Linked DNA regions of Homo sapiens: all the other regions are linked to region 5. Evidence: promoter capture Hi-C in 16 types of primary human blood cells and fetal thymus (Javierre and others, 2016). All regions are on one chromosome and are shown on one strand. Each heading gives the region's core, a stretch centred on a gene start or on the middle of the fragment in contact. The rest is flanking DNA. Distances are from core to core; before and after follow the strand shown.

Region 1 (3,017 bases), core at 183-2,682, 3.7 Mb after region 5:
TTAGCAGTTGAATAACTCAAAATTGCATTTTGGAAGCTTGCTAAGTGACAAGACCTTCTTGTATCCTTTTGTGAACCCCCAAAATATGAGACAGGCCTCAGTTAATTTAGAAAGTTAATTTTGCCAAAGTTGAGGACACGCGTCCATGACATAGCCTCAGGAGGTCTTGTAGACATGTGCCCAAGGTGATCAGAGCACGGTTTGGTTTTATACATTCTAGGGAGAAATGAGACATCAATCAATATATGTAAGATGAACATTGGTTCATTCTGGAAAGACTGGACAACTCAAAGCAAAGGCAGGAAGACTCTGAGTGGGGAGGGAGCTTCCAGGGCATAGATAGATAAGAGACAAATGGTTGCATTCCTTTGAGTTTCTGATTAGCCTCTCCAAAGGAGGCAGTCAGATATGCGTTTATCTCAGTGAGCAGAGGGGTGACTTTTTAAAGAATGGGAGGCAGGTTGGCCCTAAGCAGTTCCCAGCTTGACTTTTCTCTTTAGCTTAGTGAGGTGGAGGCCCCAAGATTTATTTTCCTTTCACACTTTAGGCCTTATGTCTGTTTTTAGTTTTATATAGTAGAATTCCTTAAAACAATCTTCAACTAATTCTTAGGGTCTTCTTAAATTCAAAAGACAAACCGTATGAGCCCTCCTCCCTGTAACTTATTCCAAATCTTAATCCATGTTTTCTGTTTAGTTATGCAAAATAAATCGAAAGAATTCTGTTCTCCATCTCTAGCCTCCAAAACCTGAACCAAAACAAAAGTTGTCAAAACAGATTTTTCAGTAAGAATACACTACACATCAAGTGGCTAATGTAAATTACAAAACAGGATGTTAATGGCAGACTGTAATATCTCTATTGTACAGATAAAAATAATCAGGGTCAGAGAGATTAAATATTCTGCCCAAGGTCACACAGCTAAAAGCAGTGGAACAGCTATAAGAACCCATTTCTTCTGGTATTAACTGGTATTTACACTCTTTTTTTTTTTTTTTTTTTAATAAATAAGTGGATTCTGGCTATGTTGCCCAGGCCTGTCTGGAACTCCTGGGCCCAAGCAATCCTTCCACCTCAGCCTCCAAAGTGTTGGGATTACAGGTGTGAGCCAGTGCACCCAGCCATTAACACTCTTAACCACTACACTATACTACCTTCTTACATTTATTTATTTATTTATTTGAGACAGGGTCTCACTTTGTCACCCAAGCTGAAGTACAGTGGCATCATCTCGGCTTACTCAACCTCCTGGGATCAAGTGATCCTCCCACCTCAGCCCCCAAAGTAGCTGGGACTACAGGTACACCACCACATTGGCTAAGTAGTGTTATTTTTTGTAGAGACAGGGTTTTGCTATGTTGCCAAGGCTGGTCTCAAACTCCTGAGCTCAACCAATCTGTCTGCCTTGGCCTCCCAAAGTACTGGGATTATGGGCCTGAGCCACTGTTCCCGGCCAAATTCTTTTCTTTTCTCTTTTCTTTTTCTTTCTTTCCTTTCTTTTCTTTCTTTCTCTTTCTTTTCTTTCCTTCATCCTTCCCTCCCCTTCCTTTCCTTTCCCTTTTCCCCTCCCTTCCCCCTTCTGTTCCCTTTTCCCTTCCCTTTTCCCTCCTCTCCCTTCCCCTCCCCTCCCTTTTTCCTCCTGCCTCAGCCTCCCAAGTAGCTGGGACCACAGACATATTCCACCATGCCCAGCTATTTTATGTATTTTTGGTAGAGTTGGCGTTTTGTAGAGACCAGCATGTTGCCCAAGCTGGTATCCAGCTGCTGAGCTCAGGCGATCTACTCGCCTTGGCCTCCCAAAGTGTTGGTAGTAGAGGTGTGAGCCACCGTGCCCAGACCCCAAATTTATTTTTATTTTATTTTATTTTTCTAGGTCAGGCATGGTGGCTCACACCTGTAATCCCAGCATGTTGGGAGGCCAAGATGGGAGACTCACTTGAGCCCAGAAGTTCCAGACCAGCCTTGGCAATATAGTGAGATGCCATTTCTATTTTAAAAAATATTTTAAAAATAAAATATTTTTCTATTCACCTTTCATCAATACAAACCCAGAAGAGAATCTTTCTTATTTTTAAAAATGAGGAAATTGAGCCCTACAAGAAAAATTGCTATAGTTTATTGATCACTTGCTAAGCCATGTACTTCATTTAATCATCGCTTTTGAACACAGTGTTGTATAAAGTTGCCCAGGCTCAAAAGCATGTACTCATAACATACTACACTAGGTAGTATGTTTTCCTCATCTCTGGTTATTTTATTTTATTTTTTTTTGCTCTGTCACCTAGGCTGGAGTGCAGTGGGGCGATCTTGGCTCACTGTAGCCTCTGCCTCCTGGGTTCCAGCGATTCTCCTGTATCAGCCTCCGGGGTAGCTGGAATTACAGGCACATGCCACTGCGCCCGGCTAATTTTTGTATTTTTAGCAGAGAGGGGGTTTCACCATGTTGGCCAGGCTGGTCTCGAACTCCTGACCTAGGTGGTCCACCCACCTCGGCCTCCCAAAATGCTGGGATTACAGGTGTGAGCCACCGCGCCCAGCCTCTGACTATTTTTCTTAGTGAGATCTTTTTAGTCACAAATATGTATATGGAATTTACATTCCAGTCCCTTGGGTTTAATAATGTACAGACAGCAGACCCCCTGTATCTTCAGGTTTCAAACCCACAGATTCAGCCAATAGCAGATGTGGAACCTGCAGATGCAGAATGGCAACTGTAAGGGCCTTGAGCATCTGCAGATTTTGGTATCACGGGGATCCTGGAACCAATCTCCCCAAATACCCAGGTACAACTATAATTATTTTTGCTGATTGTTATGTCTCATTAGAATGCAAGCTTATTAAGGAAACCATATCTCTTCCTTTTTTCTTTCCTTCTTTTTTTTTTTTTTTTTTTTTGAGACAGTCTCGCTGTGTCACCCAGGCTGGAGTGCAGTGGCGCTATCTCAGCTCACTGCAATCTCTGCCTCCTGGGTTCAGGTGATTCTCCTGCCTCAGCTGCCCAAGTAGCTGGGACTACA
Region 2 (3,099 bases), core at 19-2,518, 4.4 Mb after region 5:
GGACATGGGAGATCAGTCTCAAATCCATCTCCCTGACTGACTAAAATTAGGAGTTTATACAGCAGAAATATAACAAATGCAGGAAAACAGGAATCAGGGAAGGATAAGGAAGGGGAGTTGGTCAACAGAAAGCAGGTCGTGGGAGACAGGCAGTCATGAAGGGTGAAGGGTCTGGACTGTCATTGTCCAAATGCAGTGATCTGGTGAGTTTCAGCTCCTTGATACTACCTGGGAAGCCTCATGGTTGGTTTACTGAGAAAGGAACTCAGATAAGACAAATGTAACTTCTCAAATTTTAAGATGAGAAGGTCAATCTCTACATATACTCAAAAGAAACCGTAAGCATCAGTTCTGTGGGATGATTGGACCGGTTTCAAATCCACATCTTTGCTTGGCTTCTTCTCCTGCCCTATCTTGCTTCCCTCCTCCCTTACAGATTTCACTTGGGGGCCATCTCCCAGTAAATCACTTCCGTGAGGGTCTCTCTCTCAGGCTTGGCTTCTAGGGATTCTAAAGCACTGCCTGCTTTTCAGAGTTTCTTGTTTGGAGATGACGCTTGAGTTGATGACACTTGAGTTGCCTCAAAGGAGCAGCTCCCAGACTGGTCTTCCACATGGGAGGGATGGAATGCAGCTTTTTAGGCTCTGGAGCCTCTCACCACCTTAGATAAATGACTTAGCTTCATTTTCTTCATCTGTGAAAAGTGGTAATTATAGTGACATTGCATGGTTGATGGAATAATGTGAGCAAGTTAGCTGGTACTTGGCAAATCTCCCTAAACTATGTGATCTTATTCTCGAAACAGAAACAATGGCTACAGTTCCATAGGTTTTAACTTCTGATCATTTTCACTTCCTTTGTCCTATCTCCACAATCTGCTGACATAGGGGGTGTTTTCCATTAAATCAATGGAGAACAGGGGGACTGGAATCTCACTTGGACCCTTCTCTCTTGCCTTTTCTTCCCCAAGTTGAGAAAGCTCCTCAGCTTTAGAAAAATCCATTTGGCACCAATAAGTAAGGCAGGGAGGGGAGCCACACAGCAGAGGGGAAGTGTGGACTTAACTCATTCTTGGCTGCCGTACCTTTCAGGGACATAAAATAGAGACCGACCCCAACAACTTTGCTCTGAAACACAGAGGGTACCTGAAATGGTCCTCTTAAGAACTAACTGGCTCCACCCAATGCAGTACAGGGTAACTTTCATAAAGACTGAGGCAGCTAACCTGGGCAACATAGCAAGATCCCCTCTCTAAAAATAAAAATCAAAAAAATTAGCCAGGTGTGGTGACACATGCCTGTAGTCCCAGCTCCTCTGGAGGCTGAGGCAGGAGGATCACTTGAGCCCAGGAGTTTGAGGCTGCAGTGACCTATGTTTGCACCACTGTACTCCAGCCTGGACCACAGAGTAAGACCCTGTCTCCAAAAAAAAAAAGAAAAAAAGACTGAGGCAGCCTTGTGTGTTTTGATTTGGAGCAATTTTAGATACATCGTCAAGAGGTAAAAGCCCCCATATCATATTTTTCAGGGGACACTTAAGAAACTCATACTAGTTGTTGCTCCTGGAGAGGGGAGAGGCTGACAGGGGAAGAGGTGGAAGGGAGACTCACTTTTTAATATCTATCCCTTTATGTCATTTGAAATGTATGCTGTAAGCCTACAGTACCTATTCAGAAGATAAAATTTAGGCATGGTGCAGTGCCTCACACCTGTAATCCCAGCATTTTGGGAGGCCAACGCAGAAGGATCGCTTGAGCCTAGGAGTTCAAGACCAGCCTGAGCAACATGGTGAGACCCTGTTTCTACAAAAAAATTAAAAATTAGCTGGCCATGGTGGCATGCACCTGTAGTCCCAGCTACTTGGGAGGCTGGGGTGGGAGGATCGGTTGAGCCTGGGAGGTTGAGGCTACAGTGACCCATGATCACATTATTGTACTACAGTCTGGGTGACAGTGAGACACTGTCCAAAAACGATTTTTTAATATAAAATTTAGTTGAAAAACAAAAGTTTTTTTTTGTTTTTTGTTTTGTTTTGTTTGTTGGCAGAGTCTCGCTCTGTCATCTCGGCTAGAGTGCAGTGGCGTGATCTCAGCTTACTGCAACCTCTGCCTCCTGGGTTCAAGCAATTCTCCTGCCTCAGCCTCCCGAGTAGCTGGGATTACAGGTGCGCACCATCACACCCAGCTAATTTTTGTATTTTTAGTAGAGACAGGGTTTCGCCATGTTGGCCAGGCTGGTCTTGAACTCCTGACCTCAGGTGTTCTGCCCACCTCGGCCTCCTAAAGTGCTGGATTACAGGCCTGAGCCACAACACCCAGCCAAAAAACAAGTTTTTTGTCTTTATCATTCAAAGGCATCTCTTTTATCCTCCGCTCTGAATTAATAAGACAGCATGAGAGAATTCAGGCAACTGGGAAGACACTTCATTTTCAGGGTTTGTTGCAGCAGGGTGAAAATTATCTATTGTTCCTTGAAGTTCAAAATACAGGAATTGCTCTGGTTTTCCTGGGCCACCTGGCAGGATACATTTGCCAGGCAGCTGGCTTACAGGAACCCTCTCCCATTACTGAGGGTTTCCTGGGGTGCCAGACACTTTATACCATCAACTCTTTTTCCCTCAACTCTGTGAGGTAGATGCTAATAATCTCTCCATGTGACAGATGAGGGAGGTAGGTAAGTGGCAGAGGATGCATTTGAAGCAAGTTCTGGCAGCTTCTGAAATCAAGCTTTTTTGAGAAAGATAATACTTGGGTCTGTGGGGTCTGTGTTTGCTTTCTCCACCTCTTCCCACATCTGGAACAAGCCCTGTCTCCTCTGAAGGAAGAAGAAAGTAGGAACCACAGAACTGGAGAGCATGGCCAAGGTTGAGGACTGAAGCTTCTGGAAACAACACAGTGGGATTTTGAGAAAATAATTGAGGAAGGAGATCCCCGCTGACTCAACTGTCCTGTGCAAGGCAACCCTTTGCCCCCCAACCCAAGCAAAACCAGCACATCCATTTATGAACAAATGCCTTCAGTAAATAGATGTTGGGTCACCATTGGGTACCAGGAACTGGGATGCAGTGGTGAGAAACACAGACAAGGCCCCATCCTCATGG
Region 3 (2,884 bases), core at 69-2,568, 4.6 Mb after region 5:
GGATTTTCTGCCCTGAAGAGACTCTCAGATCGCAGCTGAGTTCTTTATGCCTAGATTTGTGTGTGTGTGGTGGCGTTTTTAATGCTTGATGTCAGAGGTGATAAATGGCCATGGTAATGGGGAGCCCTGGCAGCACCTGCTGGGCTGACAGTGGTGGAGGCTGTGTCTGGGGGTGGGACGGGGAAATGAAACGTGACAGAGATCCTGTTTGGATATTCTGCCGAAGTTACCATGTTTCTGTTCAAGTATACCAGTTCTAGAACAAGTTGATGGATCCAATTTTAGGACTTTGTGATAGAAGAGGTTTGGGTGGCAAAGTGACCTGGGATGACCCGGCTCGGCTAAGAATATTTGGGGTAGCCTAAGTATCTCTTCTATATCCCCCTGGCATGTTCTTTTTTTCGCTGTCACAAATGCCCTATTACTTGAATCATCCTGGGATAGGAGAGAAGCTTGGGGACAGCATGTAGCACAGTCCTGAGCCCAAGATTGAGATGTTTTCAAATGAACGAATATGTAGCTAGGAAAAGGAAAATGTGTTTGTCAGCAGGGTTGGTAGGTTGAGAGTATTTTCTCTTTGGCCGAAACCATCAGTCCATACTGATACTTGATTTTGTGCTATGCCTTAGATATGAACGATGGAGTGGTCAGGATAGCCATGGATGCCATTCCAAAGTTTTGTGATTTGAATTTTCATAAATCATATTTTAACCAAAGCATTACTACTTAAAGGAATCTTAGGGTGAACCCTATGAATCCTTCAGTGCGCTTGGATTTTGATATTTGGGGTCCATTTAAAATGGAGTACCTGTATGTATTTGGATTCAGCTTTAACTTGGAGATAATCCCGAGTCATGCTTTAAAGAAGTTCCTTCTGAGATCAGGAGCTCAGGTGTTTGGTGAACTCTGGGAAAACTAGACACTCCCCTTTACCTGTATATAGTTCTCCCTTCTGGAGCTCTGGGAAAAGGAGGACCTGGGGAGATTTGAAGCAAATTAAGAGGCTGCCTCCTCCATATTTGCCGTCTCCAGGCCAATGCTCTAAATTACTTGTGTTCACACTCAAGTTTCTCATGTTAACCTAGAAATTTTGTTTATGCTGCTGCCACTAATGTTTTCACATTTGTCTAATACTTGCTAGTTTACAGATGGTTTTATATTCATGATCTCCCTTATTTTCTCCATTTCCCCAAAGAAGAAGCTGGGCATAAAGAGTGATTTTCTCAGGGTCTCATAATCAGTAACGGAGCAGAATTCAACTACAGGACCTCCCTGGGAACCTGTTCTCTTTCCTTGTCCTGATGTGTTACTCTTATAGGCCAATTTTTGCCTTTGTGTTGTGCCTAAATGGTGTAATTACCCCGTTTTGGGAAGGTGGTATTATCCCGTTTTATCTTGCGGAAACTGAGGGTTAAGAGGAATGTTATGATTTTGTGACTATTTGTGACAGCTTTTTAATATTAGGTCACTTTTAAACCTATAGCTTCTCTCTTCTAGACCACATGGTTGAGAAAGGAGAAAGAGAAAATGATTACTTGTAGAGAAAAATCCATTTCTGCAGTGGTATGGTTAAGGATAATCTAACCATAATCACATTATCCTTGTATGCCTGGCTACTTATGCTGGCCTGTATGTGAATGTTAACCCCAAAGACTCCTTTAGATGTCGCTGAACTAGTTACTATAAAAAGTATTTCGCTTTCAAACTCCCACATTTCAAGAAGAGCAAAACTCAATACAAGGCAATTTTGAAGGTAAGTATAGAAAGAGGGAGTTTATTGAGTCTTTTCTGACTACCAGACACGAAGGTTTCAGTAAAAAAGCATTTTTAAAGGGCTGCCTGGAAACTCTGGGAAGTCAGTAGTTGGAGTTTTTTATTATTCGTTGGAGGTTTTTATTGCAACATATAGGTAGTTATATAGGATTAGGACTTTTGCCCCGGAGAATTCTTAATCTATAGCAGGAATGATAAACCCAGAATATTTTTGTTAAGTTAGTTCATCATAACCATTAGGCCTGTAATTGCAATTCTGCAGTGATAGGGAGAATGGCATTTAAGGGTTCTTAGGTTATTTTTTTAAGTTATTAACTTACTGAATTATGTATGCATTTCTTCAGATATGCTACTTTAGAAAATTAATACTTCCTTTTAAGGTTTCTATAAATTCTTCAGTATGTGTTTTCTTAAGCTTAATTACCTGCTAACATGACACTGTCAGAATTTATACATTAGTCACAATAACCTTTGAAGCTTAAACATGGTTGAATTTTCAGCACTGCTTTATATTCTTTGGGGAGTGGGCAGTGTTGTTTTCACAAGAATTTTATTTGCATCAAAGGTTACATCTTTTCAGGTGAACTGATTTTTCAGGGTCAGAGGCTTCTTTGAATTTTATAGCTGTTTGTGCTCGGTTGCATTTGCTGTCTTTCAAAACCATCTTTAGTTTTAGTAAGGAAAGTCACTATAAAGGAAAAATTTTTTATTGTTACCATTCCTGGTAGATTTTCTGAAATATTAGATATTTCTTTGCTTTCATCAAGTAAAATAGGCCTATTTGATACCCATTTCAAGATCTTCCTTCTGCTGCCTGTCTTGTGGTCATTTAACTTCTCATTAAGCCCTCCACTGGAGACTGTGCCAGAAGGGAGAGAAGATGAAAAGCAAATGAATCATTTTCTAATTGTTAGTAGCTCTGGAAAATGATTCAGTAGAAGAGATTGAAACTATTCTGGAAATTCTTTGGGATTGTATTTCATTCATCTGCATCGTTTCAGAGATGTTCCTAATGGTCGTCAATTCAGAATTCAGAAGCCGATCATTATCCAGCTATTGGATAACAGGGAATTTTTCATGCTTTTTTTTTGTTTGTTTGTTTCTTGCTGTA
Region 4 (3,025 bases), core at 250-2,749, 4.6 Mb after region 5:
CCCAAATAATTGAAAGCAGGGATTCAAGCATATACTTGCACATCAATGTTCACAGCAGCATTACTCACAATAGACAAAACAAGGCCAGGCACGGTGGCTCACACCTGTAATTCCAGCACTCTGGGAGGCCAAGGCAGGTGGATCACTTGAGGTCAGGAGTTCGAGACCACCCTGGCCAACATGGTGAAACCCATTCTCTACTAAAAATACAAAAATTGGCCGGGTGTGGTGGCGGGTGCCTGTAATCCCAGCTACTCGGGAGGCTGAGGCAGAATTGCTTGAACCCAGGAGGCAGAGATTGCAGTGAGCTGAGATAGTGCCACTGCACTCTAGCCTGGGCAGCAAGAGCAAAACTCCGTCTCAAAAAAAAAAAAGAAAATGTCGGGCTGAGCGAGGTGGCTCATGCCTGTAATCCTAGCACTTTGGGAGGCCAAGGCAGGCAGATCACTTGAGGCCAGGAGTTCAAGACCAGCCTGGGCAATATGGTGAGACCCTGTCTGTACTAAAAATACAAAAATTAGCCCGGTGTGGTGGCACCGGCATCTAATCACAGCTACTCAGGAGTGTGAGGCGCGAGAATCCCTTGAGCCCAGGAGGTGGAGGTTGCAGTGAGCTGAGATCGCGCCACTGCACTCCAACCTGGGTGACAGAGGGAGACTATCTCAAAAAAATATACATATATATATTATTCAGCCTTAGGAAAGAATCAAACTCTGACGCATGCTACAACATGGATGAACCTTGAGGACATTACGCTGAGATAAGCCAGACACAAAAGGACAAATGATGCCACTTATAAGAAGTTCTAGAATAGGCAACCTCATAAAGACAGAAAAGTACAACAGGGGTTACCAGGGGTTTGGGGAAGGGAAATGAGGAGTTACCGAGTAATGGACAGTTTCTGCTTGGGATGATTAAAAAGTTCTGGAAATGGATGGTGGTTAATGGTTGTACAACATGGTGAATGTACTTAATGCCACTGAATTATACACTTCTAAAAAGTACATTTTAAGTTAGGTCTATTTTGCTGCAATTTAAAGAAAAAAACATGGAGTGAGGGAGGAAACGCCTAGTCTTAGTTTTCCCCCATTGCCCAGCCAGCTGTGAGGTGGTGACTCGCCGGTGTGCTAATTGCCAGGCGGCGACAGAGGCAGCAGGAGCTCCACGGAGGATGCTGGCTCCGCAAACCCAAGGCCCACGGCGCCGGAAGGCCACAGCGCAGGCGCGACTCCGGCCTCCTTCCCGAGAGAAGGGGGGACCCTCCCCGCCCTCGTCCGACGAGCACCCGCGCCTGTTACCTGCAGCGCAGCCGGCGCGGTCCAGTGAAAGCGCCTCTTCAGCAGCCCGGAGACCTGGCAGGGAGAGAGGAAGATGACGGCGGGACGCAGGGTGGGCAGGGGTCGCGTGGGAATACAGGCCGCGCGCTGCTGCCTACCTCCCGAAGGGGTCTCCGCACCAAGCCAGACACCGCCGCCATCTTGGTCGTGTCCTCTATCCGCTGCCAAACGACAACAGAGGGGCCGGCAGACGTGAGCAGGCCCCGCCTCCACCGGCGCGGGCCAATGGCAAGGCGCGCCGGCTGCGTGACCCGCCCACCCGCCCACCGGGTGAGGGGCCGCGGGGCCGGGCTGAGGTGGCGTGTGGGTGGCCGTGCCCCTCTGCCTGGAGCCGCCTCAAATCAACTTTATTGACAGTAGGCGGTGACCGACAGGCGGGGTGCACGCTGGGCACACGTGCCTGGTCGGTGTTACTTGAAGCGTGGGGACTAGAAGTCAGACCCTGAGGAGCATGATCTCTGGAAGCTGGAGAGACCTTAAGAGTTAGGCCAACCTGTTGTGGGTGCTGGAATCCTTTGGGCACCAAGAAGTGCTTGCACACGCTCTACTGATGGGGAACTTAACACTTCATGAGTGAGTCTAGTCTTCCCTGGACAGTGCTGTCTGTTGATTCCTTATAATGCACATCATAGCTTTCATTGATTGCATTAAGCACCTACTGTGAGCCAAGCATTGAGATATGTGCTGTATAGCTCATTCTCACAGTACCCCACTTGGGTAATTAGTGTTATTATTATCTCCATTTTGAAGACGGTTAAACTGAAGCAGAAATTGATTAAATGAGCCGATATTTTAATTTAGGACTGTCTTGACTCTAAAGCATGGTCTTTTTCCCACTGCTTCCTAAAGCAGAAGTGGATTCCTGCTTGGGGGAAGGTTACAACAACTTTAGAGAAGGGCGGCCCTATGGATGTAGCAGGACAAGCCGCAGACGAAACTCCTCAGACACCGAGTTAAAGAAGGAAGGGGTTTATTCGGCCAGGGGCATGGGCAAGACTCTTGTCTCAAGAGCCGAGCTCCCTGAATGGGCAATTCCTGTCCCTTTTAAGGGCTCACAGCTCTAAGGAGGTGTGCGTGAGAGGGTCATGATTGATTGAGCAAGCAGGGGGTATGTGACTAGGGGCTGCAAGCACCGGTAATTAGACTGGAACAGGATAGGGATTTTCACAGTGCTTTTCTATACAATGTCTGTAATCTATAGTTAACATAACCGATTAGGTCGGGGTCGATCTTTACCAGGCCCAGGGTGTGGCACCAGGCTGTCTGTTTGTGGATTTCATTTCTGCCTTTTAGTTTTTACTTTTTCTTTCTTTGGAGGCAGAAATTGGGCATAAGACAATATGAGGGGTGGTCTCCTCCCTTATGGGGAGGTGCCAAACACTTGGCCATAGGGACAACCTCTGGAAGCTCATTAGTCTTAATTTGGCCCTTGGGGGTCAGATGGGACAATTGAGCACCCAGTCTCCACCCATCCCCAAGACATTCCAAACATTCCCTTCTATGGATCACAGCTGCAGGCTGCCAAATTAGGAATTTGCAACTTCCAGTAGGTTGCTGACTGGGAATGGGAGGGGGTGGAGGCAAAGGCAGAACAGGCGGATGCTGGGAAGTCTGTGGCAGCAACAGAGGCAGACTAGGAGGCAACTTCCAGATGGAGAGGAGGGGGACAGTTTTGAGATCTATTTGGG
Region 5 (3,084 bases), core at 15-2,514:
GAGGAGGTACTTGCTTGAGTGCCCAATACTGCCCTCTGCACAAGCCCATTCCATGCCATGCTCTGATACCTGTTGTCCTATCTCCAAGTGTGACCTCTCTCCTCCTAATCACCCCCCACAGAGTGGGAGAATCCTAGAGGGAAGGATCTGGCAAGGCCCTTACAGACCATCCAGTCAGCCTTCTCAACTAGACAGATGGAGAAACCAGGCCTGTGCAACAGTAATGGCCACTCTGGGCTTACGGTGTGCCAGGCACTGTCATACTAGTGATAACTAACTAGTAGCTGCCCTACTAGTTAGGTATTATCCTTAACCCATCTACCGGTAAGGAAGCTGGATCAGAGATGTCCTACATGAATTTCTGAGCAGTTTATGCCTCATTTCTTCTGTGAATTGTACACTGCCTGTGCCCGTTTTCCTACGTGAATGCTGTTTTAGTTACTGATCAGTAAGGTTTTGTGTATGTGTATACATCTAAGGTCCTCTGCCAGGCACGCTACTGCAAATAATTTTTTCTGGTTAGTTTAGTTTGGTCTAATAGTGTTGTTTTTGATACACAAGCTCTTAATATATATTTAGACAAATGTCCACCATTTCCTTGCTTTTAAGCTTGAAATGACTTCCATTATCTGAGATTTCCTTAACAAAGGAAAAAGCCTGGACCCCAAACTATCCCTTAACAAGCACAGGCTGACGCTCCCAGTGAGCCAGCCTGGTCCTAAACTCTATCTGCCACCATTTAACCCTCACGGCAACTTGCGAGGCGGCTGGTTATCACCGTGGTCGTTTTATGGTCGGGGAAGCTGAGGCCAGAGCCCGGGCAGGAGCGCACACAACCAGACGGTGGGGCGTGCGGGAGATCGGAGCGGTGTCCCTGCGGGGGCTCCGCCTGGCTCCTGGCGCTCCGCACCTCCCAGCCCTCGGCGTCCCGGCGCGCCACCACCCGGAAAAGAACGACCGCTTCCGCACTCCCCCCACCAGGGGCTGGGGCCTGCAAGGGGGACTCGAAGCCTCCCGCCGCCTCCCGCCCCTTGCCTGGCAGCGGAGGACCCAAGCAAGGGCAAAGAGTTCCAACCCAGCCAGAGCCGCACCTCTTGCAGCGACTCCGGCACCAGCGCGGGCACGATGGGCCGCTTCACGCCGCGCTGCTCCTTCTCCTTCTCGCCGCCCTTCTCCTTTCCGTTCTCCGTATCACCCTTCTCAGCCTGGGTCATTATGGCCGGAGACACCCACCAACCTCTCGCCTCAGCGCTGCAGCCACGACTGCCGGGATGGAAGGGCCACCGCGCAGGCGCACGGCCGGCTGCCCACAGTCAAGATGGCCGCCGCGGAGTCGCCCCAGAGGGCTCCGAAAAGGCGGGGGTGGGGCTGCCCGGCGCAGGGGCTGGGGGCGGGGTGTGCATGCGGATTGATTGGGTGGGTGTTGCTGTGATTAGTCCTGACTGTGTAGATGCCAGCAACATAGTACACATAGCTTTTCGAGCGCCTAGTGGGGGTCGGCTGATAACCCGCATCTTATTTCGTCCTCACAGGCATCTCTTCTCCTGGCTTCCCAGATACCATATGTACTCTTAGTTTTTCTCATATGTCTTCATGTTCAGTCCAGCCTCTGATGTTGGGGTTAGGTCTTTTCCAGGCACACTCCTTGGGTGACTATCCAGTTTCCTGGCTTTAGCAATGAATACGATTCCCAAATATATATATCCAGGATGAACCGCTCAGAGAGATCCGTACTGATAACCAGTGCCTACTTGGTCTCTCCATCTGGATTGTCTACAAGGCACTGCAAACTTAAATATGTCCAAAATTTAACTCTTGATTCCCTCCCCTCTCACTTTCACCATCTCAGTAAATGTCATTTTGATTCTTCACTTGTTGACAGCTTCTACATCCAATCCATCAGTAAATCCTGCAGTCTCTAAAATAGATCTTGAATTCATCCACTTCTCCATTCCCATGCCACTACCTAGCCCAAGCCACTATCATCTCACCTGGATGACTACAACAGCCTCTTAACTCGAACTCCTTGTCCTGTCCCCCTATGATCTGTTCTTATATAGTTGCCCACGTTGTTTTAAAATATTACGTAGTTAATACTACTATGTACCCAGCACTCCACTAAGACTTACCTCAAAAATTAGATGTCACTCATGCTTTAAACTCTAATGGTTTCCCTTTGCTCAAAGAACAGAATCTAAACTAACCACCACCTAAAGACCATATCTAGTTATTGCTACATTTCTAAGTTCACCTCACAACACTCTCCCCATTCCTTGGCATTTCCAGCTACACCTGTTTTATCTTTCTCAGACATGCCAAGCCCTTCCCGTCATCGGGCTGTTGCACTTGCTGTTCATTTTGCCTTGGATGCTCTTCCCTCAGCTGTCTCATTCTCACGTCTGAACTCAAATGTCACCTCAGGCCTTCCGCAGTTATTCTCTCATCATCCTATTCCCTTTGAAGCATGAAGCATTAGTCTGTAATTATCATGCCTGCTCACTGTCTCCCACACTAGAATGTAAGCTCCGTGAGACTTTGCCAGTTATCTTCAGCACATGGTAGGTGCCCAATAAGCATGTGATGACTAAATACTAAATAAAGAACTCTTGGAGGTAAAAATTTAATCCCCGTTTTACAGGTGAGTGAAGTGGGATAAAATGGCATAATTCACTCAAGATCATAAGCTATTGAGTAGCAAAGACAAGAGTTAAGCATAAAGTACTCAAGAACCTGTGTTTTACATTCTATCTGAAGTGCAAAGAAGAATACCTGAATGTCAAATGCAGCCAGAACTCTGGGATAAGACCCGAGGAACAAGTCCTGCAGCAGCAGTGCTAGGAGGCAGAAGAGGACCATGGTTCACATGCTCAGGAAGAGCCATCAGTAACAACAATCAACCACCTACTGAGACTCTGCCATGGTCTCCCCGCTATAGGGTAAGGTGGAGGTTTAATAATGCCTCTGCCATTCACTGGCAATACAATCTAGGAAGCTGCCAAACTTTACTGAACCCTTGCATGTATCTGTATAATGCAAATGTCATTATACATTTACCTCACTTTGTATATATGTATACATTATACA
Region 6 (2,929 bases), core at 338-2,837, 3.9 Mb after region 5:
TGTTTTTTCTTCACCCCAAACTTTGTGTACTAGCTGTATGACAGTGTTCACTGTTTCTAGAACAAGTGCCTTTTTTTGCTGTTTTGTCTTCTAGAATGACCTCTTCTTGTCATCCCTTAAGGCTCAGTTCCAATGTGAAACCTTCCCTGACTCCCTTTAACTGAAGAATTAATTGCTTCTTCCTCTATACTTCCATTTAACTTTGTGTATAATTTCTTTATTTCTTTTTTTTAAATTTATTTTTATTTTTATTTTTGAGACAGGGTCCCTCTCTGTCACCCAGGCTAGAGTGTAGTGGTGTGATCTTGGCTTACTGCAGCCTCCACCTCATGGGTTCAAGCAGTTCTCCTGCCTCAGCCTCTCAAGTAGCTGGGATGACAGGCACCCCCCAGCACACCTGGCTAATTTTTGTATTTTTAGTAGAGATGGGATTTCACCATGTTGCCCAGGCTGATCTCGAACTCCTGGCCTCAAGCAATCCACCTGCCTCAGCCTCCCAAAGTGCTGGGATTACAGGTGTGAGCCACTGCACCCGGCCTGTATATAATTTCATTATGGGACATAAACAACAAAATAACTATGATGCAAATGTACTACTGTCCCATCAGATGTGAACTCTTGAGAGCAAGAGAATAGGCACTACATTCATGTTTGAATGAGGGAAATGTGAACAATGGAGCGGTTTGTATTTCTGCAAACCTGTGCAGTGTTAAAGGGCAGAAAGTCATTCAAGTTAGTTCTCAATTTGAGATCATGGACTCAATTATCAATATGTAGTCTTTGTATAAGTCATTATTTATTGAGAGCTTGCAGTTTGCAAAACATTTTGCTAAGTGTTTTTGGATCGTAGATCCAAATCTTGTGATTGGTGATATGAAATTATATATATGAACTATTACAATTTCACACAAAATAATTTTAAAAGGTTTTAGAATAATCAGAGTGCTTTCTTGTTTCATTTGGTCTATATAACACTCTTAGAAGGTAAGTAAAACAGCTGCAGTCTGGCTCGCTTTTGTCCAAAAAGAGTTTGATGTTTAGAGGTTATTTGTACAAGATCATCTAGTGGTAACTATGGGAGTTTTTTTCCCCCCAAAATGAAAGCCAACTATTAGACATTTATTCTGAACTGTCTTCTTAGGGACTGAGCAATTATTATGAAAATCTGTCTTTTGCTCTCTTGAAAGGTAATCTAAGCTATTGCTTTTTGATGTATAACCGAAACTTGTCATATTACGGACTTTCAAAGACTGAAATAACTCAAGTTAATTATTTCTCTGAGTCAGCTAACATTTTTAAAAACTTACCTCTACTACTCCTAGAAATACAATATTTTTTCTTGGGCTTGCATTCAGGCAAACTGATTTGGCTTTGGGTATATATGAAAATGAATGAAACAGCCTTGGAAAAACTTGTTTGGCCATGTACATTTTTCATGCTTTATAAGAGAGTAGCTGACAAATGTAAAGAAAAGAAGGAAAGCTTATATAGGCACTTGAAAATATGGACGTGTTTGGTGGTTAGTACTGTATCTTTTGTCAAGTATACAATTTGGGTTGGATTTTAAATTTAAGCACATAGAAACTGTGTGTTAAGATTTTCTCAATATTTTCAGGCTTACAGTTTTATTTATATATAAGTACTGACTTATTCTAGCTGAGCCAAGCAGAAAGGATTTTCCAATATAGACTTTCAAGCTTTTCTTATTTTTTACTTATACAAATAACAGGAATACATTCTCATAAAAAGTCAAGCAGGCCAGGTGTGGTGGCTCACACCTGTAATCCTAGCACTTTGGGAGGCTGAGGCAGGAAGATTGCTTGAGGCCAGGATTTCAAGTTCAGCCTGGGCAACTGTTTATATGAAATGTGTAGAATAGGTAAATTCATAGAAACAAAGATTGGTGGTTTCTAGGGGCTGAGGGTAATTAGGAATGTGATGGTTAATTTTATGTCAGTGTGGCTAGGCTGTGGTATCAGTTTTTCACTTGACCAACTTTTGGTCAAACACCAACCTGATATTCCTGTGAAAGTATTTCTTAGATGTGACTAACATTTATACCATTATACTTTGAGTAAAGCATATTACCCTCCATAATGTGGGTGGGCCTCTCTAATCAGTCGAAGGCCTTAAAAAAAAAGACTGAGGTCCCCCTGAAGTTAGGAATTTTGCCCTCACAAAGCTGTTGGACTCAAGACTACACAACAGCTCTTCCCTGAATCCCTAGTCTAATGATATGCCCCGCCAATTTCATACTTGCCAGCACCCCCCACCCCAGTTGCGTGAGCCAATTCCATTAGATAAATCTCTCTATATAAATGTACATGCAATCGGTTCTGTTTTTCTAGAGCCTTGACTAACATAGGATATGACTGCCAAATTGGTACGAGTTTCTTTTTGGGATGATGAAAATGTAAAATTGATTGTGGCGATGGTTGCACAACTCTGAATTGTATACTTAAATTGGCAATTGTATGGTGTTTGAATTATATCTCCAAAAAGGATTTTCATTTTATTTTATTTTTTTTTTGAGATGGAGTCTTGCTCTGTTGCCCAGGCTGGAGTGCAGTGGCGCGATCTTGGCTCACTGCAAGCTCTGCCTCCTGGGTTCACGCCATTCTCCTGCCTCAGCCTCCTGAGTAGCTGGGACTACAGGGCGCCTGTCACCACGCCCAGCCAGTTTCTTGTATTTTTAGTAGAGATGGGGTTTCACCGTGTTAGCCAGGATGGTCTCGATCTCCTGACCTCGTGATCCGCCCGCCTTGGCCTCCCAAAGTGCTGGGATTACAGGCATGAGCCACCGCGCCCGGCTGGATTTTTTTTTTTAAGACACAAGGTCTCACTATGTTGCCCGGCTGGTCTCAAATTCCTGGGCTCAAGCAACCCTCCCACCTCAGGCTCCCAAAGTGTTAGGATTACAGGGTGAGCT
Region 7 (2,907 bases), core at 101-2,600, 3.9 Mb after region 5:
GTAATTTCAATATTTCTGTACATTTGAAATTTTTTATAACAAAAAGTTTAGGAAAATATGAAAAATGAACAATTTTAGTGGATACAGGTTCTACCTTGATTCAATATTATTCTCATTATCGTCTTCAAGACTAACTTCAGAGTCTAAGCTAGAGTGAGAAGTTACAAAATCAAGTTTTCTTCTGCCACCATCTTTGCCACTGATCCTGAGTTATCATATAACCAGAAAATGGGGAGACGGACCTGTCTGGTTGCACTTAAAGCATCTCATTTCTCTAGAGAAGCGTTTTCAGTGTCAATAGCCCACCAATTTCTTCTACAGCATTTCACGTGTCATGCTCGTTAACATGCTAGATTTGCACAGAGGAGACTGGGTTCCTGAGCCATATGTTCAAAGCAGGAACAGCTATATAATTTTTTCGTTTTTATTCAGTTTCGCTTTTGTAGCCTGGGCTGGAGTGCAAGGGCACGATCTTGGCTCACTGCCCCAGCCTCCTGAGTAGCTGGAATTACAGGTGTGATCGACCACACCATACTAATTTTGCATTTTTAGTAGGGACGGGATTTAATCGTGTTGGCCAGGCTGGTCTTGAACTCCTGACTCCAGGTGATCCAAAAGCCTTGGCCTTCCAAAGGGTTGGGATTACAGGCATGAGCCACCACGCTTGGCAACAGCTATATAATTTGAGGGGTCCAGTGCAAATGAAAATGAGAAATCTGTTCAAAAGTTACCGAGAATTTCAAGACAGCAGAGTACAACTAGATATAGTCCTTCCAAGCGGGGCCCTACGTAAAGGTCATACGCTATGAAACCGGCTCTGTACAAAACCCAGTGAAGAATCTACAGATGATTGGCCAGGTGCAGTGGCTCATGCCTGTAATTCCACCATTCGGGAGGCAGAAGCGGGCAGATCACTTGAGGTCAGGAGTATGAGACCAGCCTAGCCAACATGGTGAAACCCCTTCTCTACTTGAAAAAAAAAAAAAAAAAAATTAGCTGGGTGTGGTGGCGAGTGCGTATAATTCCAGCTACTCAGTCAGAAGGCTGAAGTAGGAGAATTGCTTGAACCCCGGAAGCAAAGGTTGCAGTGAGCCGAGACTGACACATTGCACTACTGCCTCGGCAACAGAGCGAGACTCTGTCTCAAAAAAAAAAAAACAAAAAACACAGATGAGACCTCCTCCTCCCAGCCTTGTATGCTTGACACGCTTTGAGGGAGTGGGGGTGCAGGAGGAGCAGGCACTCCAGAGTCACTTCCTTGTATAGGTCTCTTCAATCCATTTCAACCTATCTTCTGAGAAATCCTTAAGACCAAAGATCCCTGAGATATTTATTAGTTTTCTAAAACATAGGCATTTAGTGAGATGCTGATGTATGACATTATACAGTAGCAACAAGGCATTTTTCTGAAACAAAAGCCCAAATAAAGTTTATTAAAAGGAAACACAAATAACTACATTCAAAAACAATTATTCAAAATATCATAGTTTTCTTTCTCTCTCTCTCTCTTTTTTTTTGAGACAGAGTCCTGCTGTTTCACCCAGGCTGGAGTGTGTAATGGCGAGATCTCGGCTCACTGCAGCTACCACCTCCCAGGTTCAAGTGATTCTCCTGCCTCAGCCTCCCAAGTAGCTGGAATTACAGACGTGTGCTACCACACCCGGCTAATTTTTGTATTTTTAGTAGAGACAGGACTTCACCATGTTGGCCAGTCTGGTTTTGAACTCCTGACCTCAGGTGATCCTCCTGCCTTGGCCTTCCAAAGTGCTGGGATTACAGGTGTGAGCCACCATGCCAGGCCAAAATATCATAGTTTTCTTAGAATAAAGTATGTACTTAAAATATATTTTTATGTGCCACACTTGCAGGGAATTATTATATATACATATGTTACAAATCATTTGATGAGCAAAGCCATCGTATATAGAGTCTCTGATATTTTACTTGGTAACTAAGTTATTTGGAAACAAATCCAGATATACCAATAAAAATTCAGAAAGAAAATGCCTCATGGGGTTTTCTGACCCAGCCCTTTTACTCTTAAGCATTTGCTACATTCCAAGTAACATTCTCAAATTAGTTATAAAAAACAAGCAGATACTTCCAGTAATCAAAAGGGGACTTATACAAGAGTGACAAAAAATAGCATAATTTCTTCCCTTCCTCGTCCCCGTGCCCCAATACAGGCCTTTTGCTATTGATATAAATTATTTATCACTTTTAAGAATAAGGCCCTTAGTGTTGACCTTCCCACTTCTAATAAATGTGGTATTTTTAAAAGGGCATGCTTCATGTGGCTTAGAATAGCATCTGGAAGAATACAGCTAACAAATTGTTAACAGTAGCATTAGACTAAGTATTTGTGATGGGGCTAGAGAGGACTTTTACTTTCCTCATTTTTGCTTACCTGAATATATGCAATGAGCATGTGTTTCTTTTATCAATCAAAAAAATCAGTCGGGGCCGGCATGGTGGCTCATGCCTATAATCCCAGCACTATGGGAGGCCGGACAGGAGGATCACTTGAGCCCATGGGTTTGAGACCAGCCTAAGCAACACAGGGGATCCGAGGTATACAGAAAAGAAAAAATTAATAAACAAAAATAAATTAGCTGGGTATGGCGGTGGCACATGCCTGTGGCACATGCCTACTAAGGAGGCTGAGGTGGAAAGATTGGTTGGGCTGGGGAGGTTGAGGCTACAGTGAGCCGTGATTGTGCCATTGCACTCCAGCCTAGGTGACAGAGCAAGATATTGTCAAAAAATAAATAAATAAAAATAAAGATAATTTTTAGAAAGAAAAAACCCCAGCATGTACTTTGGATCTAGCATGGTGACTTATTTTCAGTCACTCAATCGAATATTAAGATTCTTAATGTTTTTCTTAATGTTTGAGCCTGAGCCTTA

What was found. Contacts are between HindIII fragments. The CHiCAGO score rates a contact against its expected background, and 5 or more counts as called.
Region 1: a contact is called between a fragment that was not itself captured here and the fragment with the promoter of ACTR8 in region 5, in 2 of 17 cell types (non-activated CD4 T cells and total CD8 T cells). The highest score is 9.5, in non-activated CD4 T cells.
Region 2: a contact is called between a fragment that was not itself captured here and the fragment with the promoter of ACTR8 in region 5, in 3 of 17 cell types (total CD8 T cells, activated CD4 T cells and naive CD8 T cells). The highest score is 7.6, in total CD8 T cells.
Region 3: a fragment that was not itself captured here is called in contact with the fragment with the promoter of ACTR8 in region 5 in 2 of 17 cell types (non-activated CD4 T cells and activated CD4 T cells); the score reaches 13.1 in non-activated CD4 T cells.
Region 4: the fragment with the promoter of PDHB here is called in contact with the fragment with the promoter of ACTR8 in region 5 in 4 of 17 cell types (naive CD4 T cells, naive CD8 T cells, total CD4 T cells and 1 more); the score reaches 11.0 in naive CD4 T cells.
Region 6: a contact is called between a fragment that was not itself captured here and the fragment with the promoter of ACTR8 in region 5, in 1 of 17 cell types (non-activated CD4 T cells). The highest score is 5.5, in non-activated CD4 T cells.
Region 7: a fragment that was not itself captured here is called in contact with the fragment with the promoter of ACTR8 in region 5 in 1 of 17 cell types (non-activated CD4 T cells); the score reaches 6.0 in non-activated CD4 T cells.

What each region holds. Positions count from the first base shown.
Region 1 is chr3:57,598,870-57,601,886 of GRCh38, forward strand. ARF4-AS1 (ARF4 antisense RNA 1) reads left to right here. Exons shown (of 2, transcript NR_132370.1): 2 at 1,874-2,047. It also overlaps a transcript of PDE12 not described here. Among named protein-coding and RNA genes, the nearest start is that of ARF4-AS1, 2.6 kb to the left of the region's middle. The HindIII fragment of the contact is 2,797 bases long and covers 35-2,831 here.
Region 2 is chr3:58,301,492-58,304,590 of GRCh38, forward strand. No RefSeq gene overlaps it. Among named protein-coding and RNA genes, the nearest start is that of RPP14, 3.2 kb to the right of the region's middle. The HindIII fragment of the contact is 2,909 bases long and covers 1-2,723 here.
Region 3 is chr3:58,492,656-58,495,539 of GRCh38, forward strand. The region is part of intron 1 of KCTD6 (potassium channel tetramerization domain containing 6); the gene reads left to right. Among named protein-coding and RNA genes, the nearest start is that of KCTD6, 2.0 kb to the left of the region's middle. The HindIII fragment of the contact is 1,736 bases long and covers 451-2,186 here.
Region 4 is chr3:58,432,333-58,435,357 of GRCh38, forward strand. PDHB (pyruvate dehydrogenase E1 subunit beta) reads right to left here and starts at 1,500. Exons shown (of 10, transcript NM_000925.4): 1 at 1,436-1,500; 2 at 1,299-1,352. The coding sequence starts at 1,477. It overlaps LOC107986092 (a long non-coding RNA gene), which reads left to right and starts at 1,263. Exons shown (of 4, transcript XR_007095933.1): 1 at 1,263-1,910. RefSeq lists enhancers at 1,256-1,475, 2,518-3,025 and a silencer at 1,536-1,775. The HindIII fragment of the contact is 4,898 bases long and covers 1-3,025 here.
Region 5 is chr3:53,880,888-53,883,971 of GRCh38, forward strand. ACTR8 (actin related protein 8) reads right to left here and starts at 1,265. Exons shown (of 13, transcript NM_022899.5): 1 at 1,092-1,265. The coding sequence starts at 1,214. RefSeq lists silencers at 892-1,001, 1,392-1,481 and an enhancer at 1,152-1,231. The HindIII fragment of the contact is 9,111 bases long and covers 608-3,084 here.
Region 6 is chr3:57,766,681-57,769,609 of GRCh38, forward strand. All of the region lies in intron 2 of SLMAP (sarcolemma associated protein), which reads left to right. Among named protein-coding and RNA genes, the nearest start is that of SLMAP, 12 kb to the left of the region's middle. The HindIII fragment of the contact is 215 bases long and covers 1,481-1,695 here.
Region 7 is chr3:57,749,287-57,752,193 of GRCh38, forward strand. No RefSeq gene overlaps it. Among named protein-coding and RNA genes, the nearest start is that of SLMAP, 5.6 kb to the right of the region's middle. RefSeq lists an enhancer at 2,298-2,907. The HindIII fragment of the contact is 7,472 bases long and covers 1-2,907 here.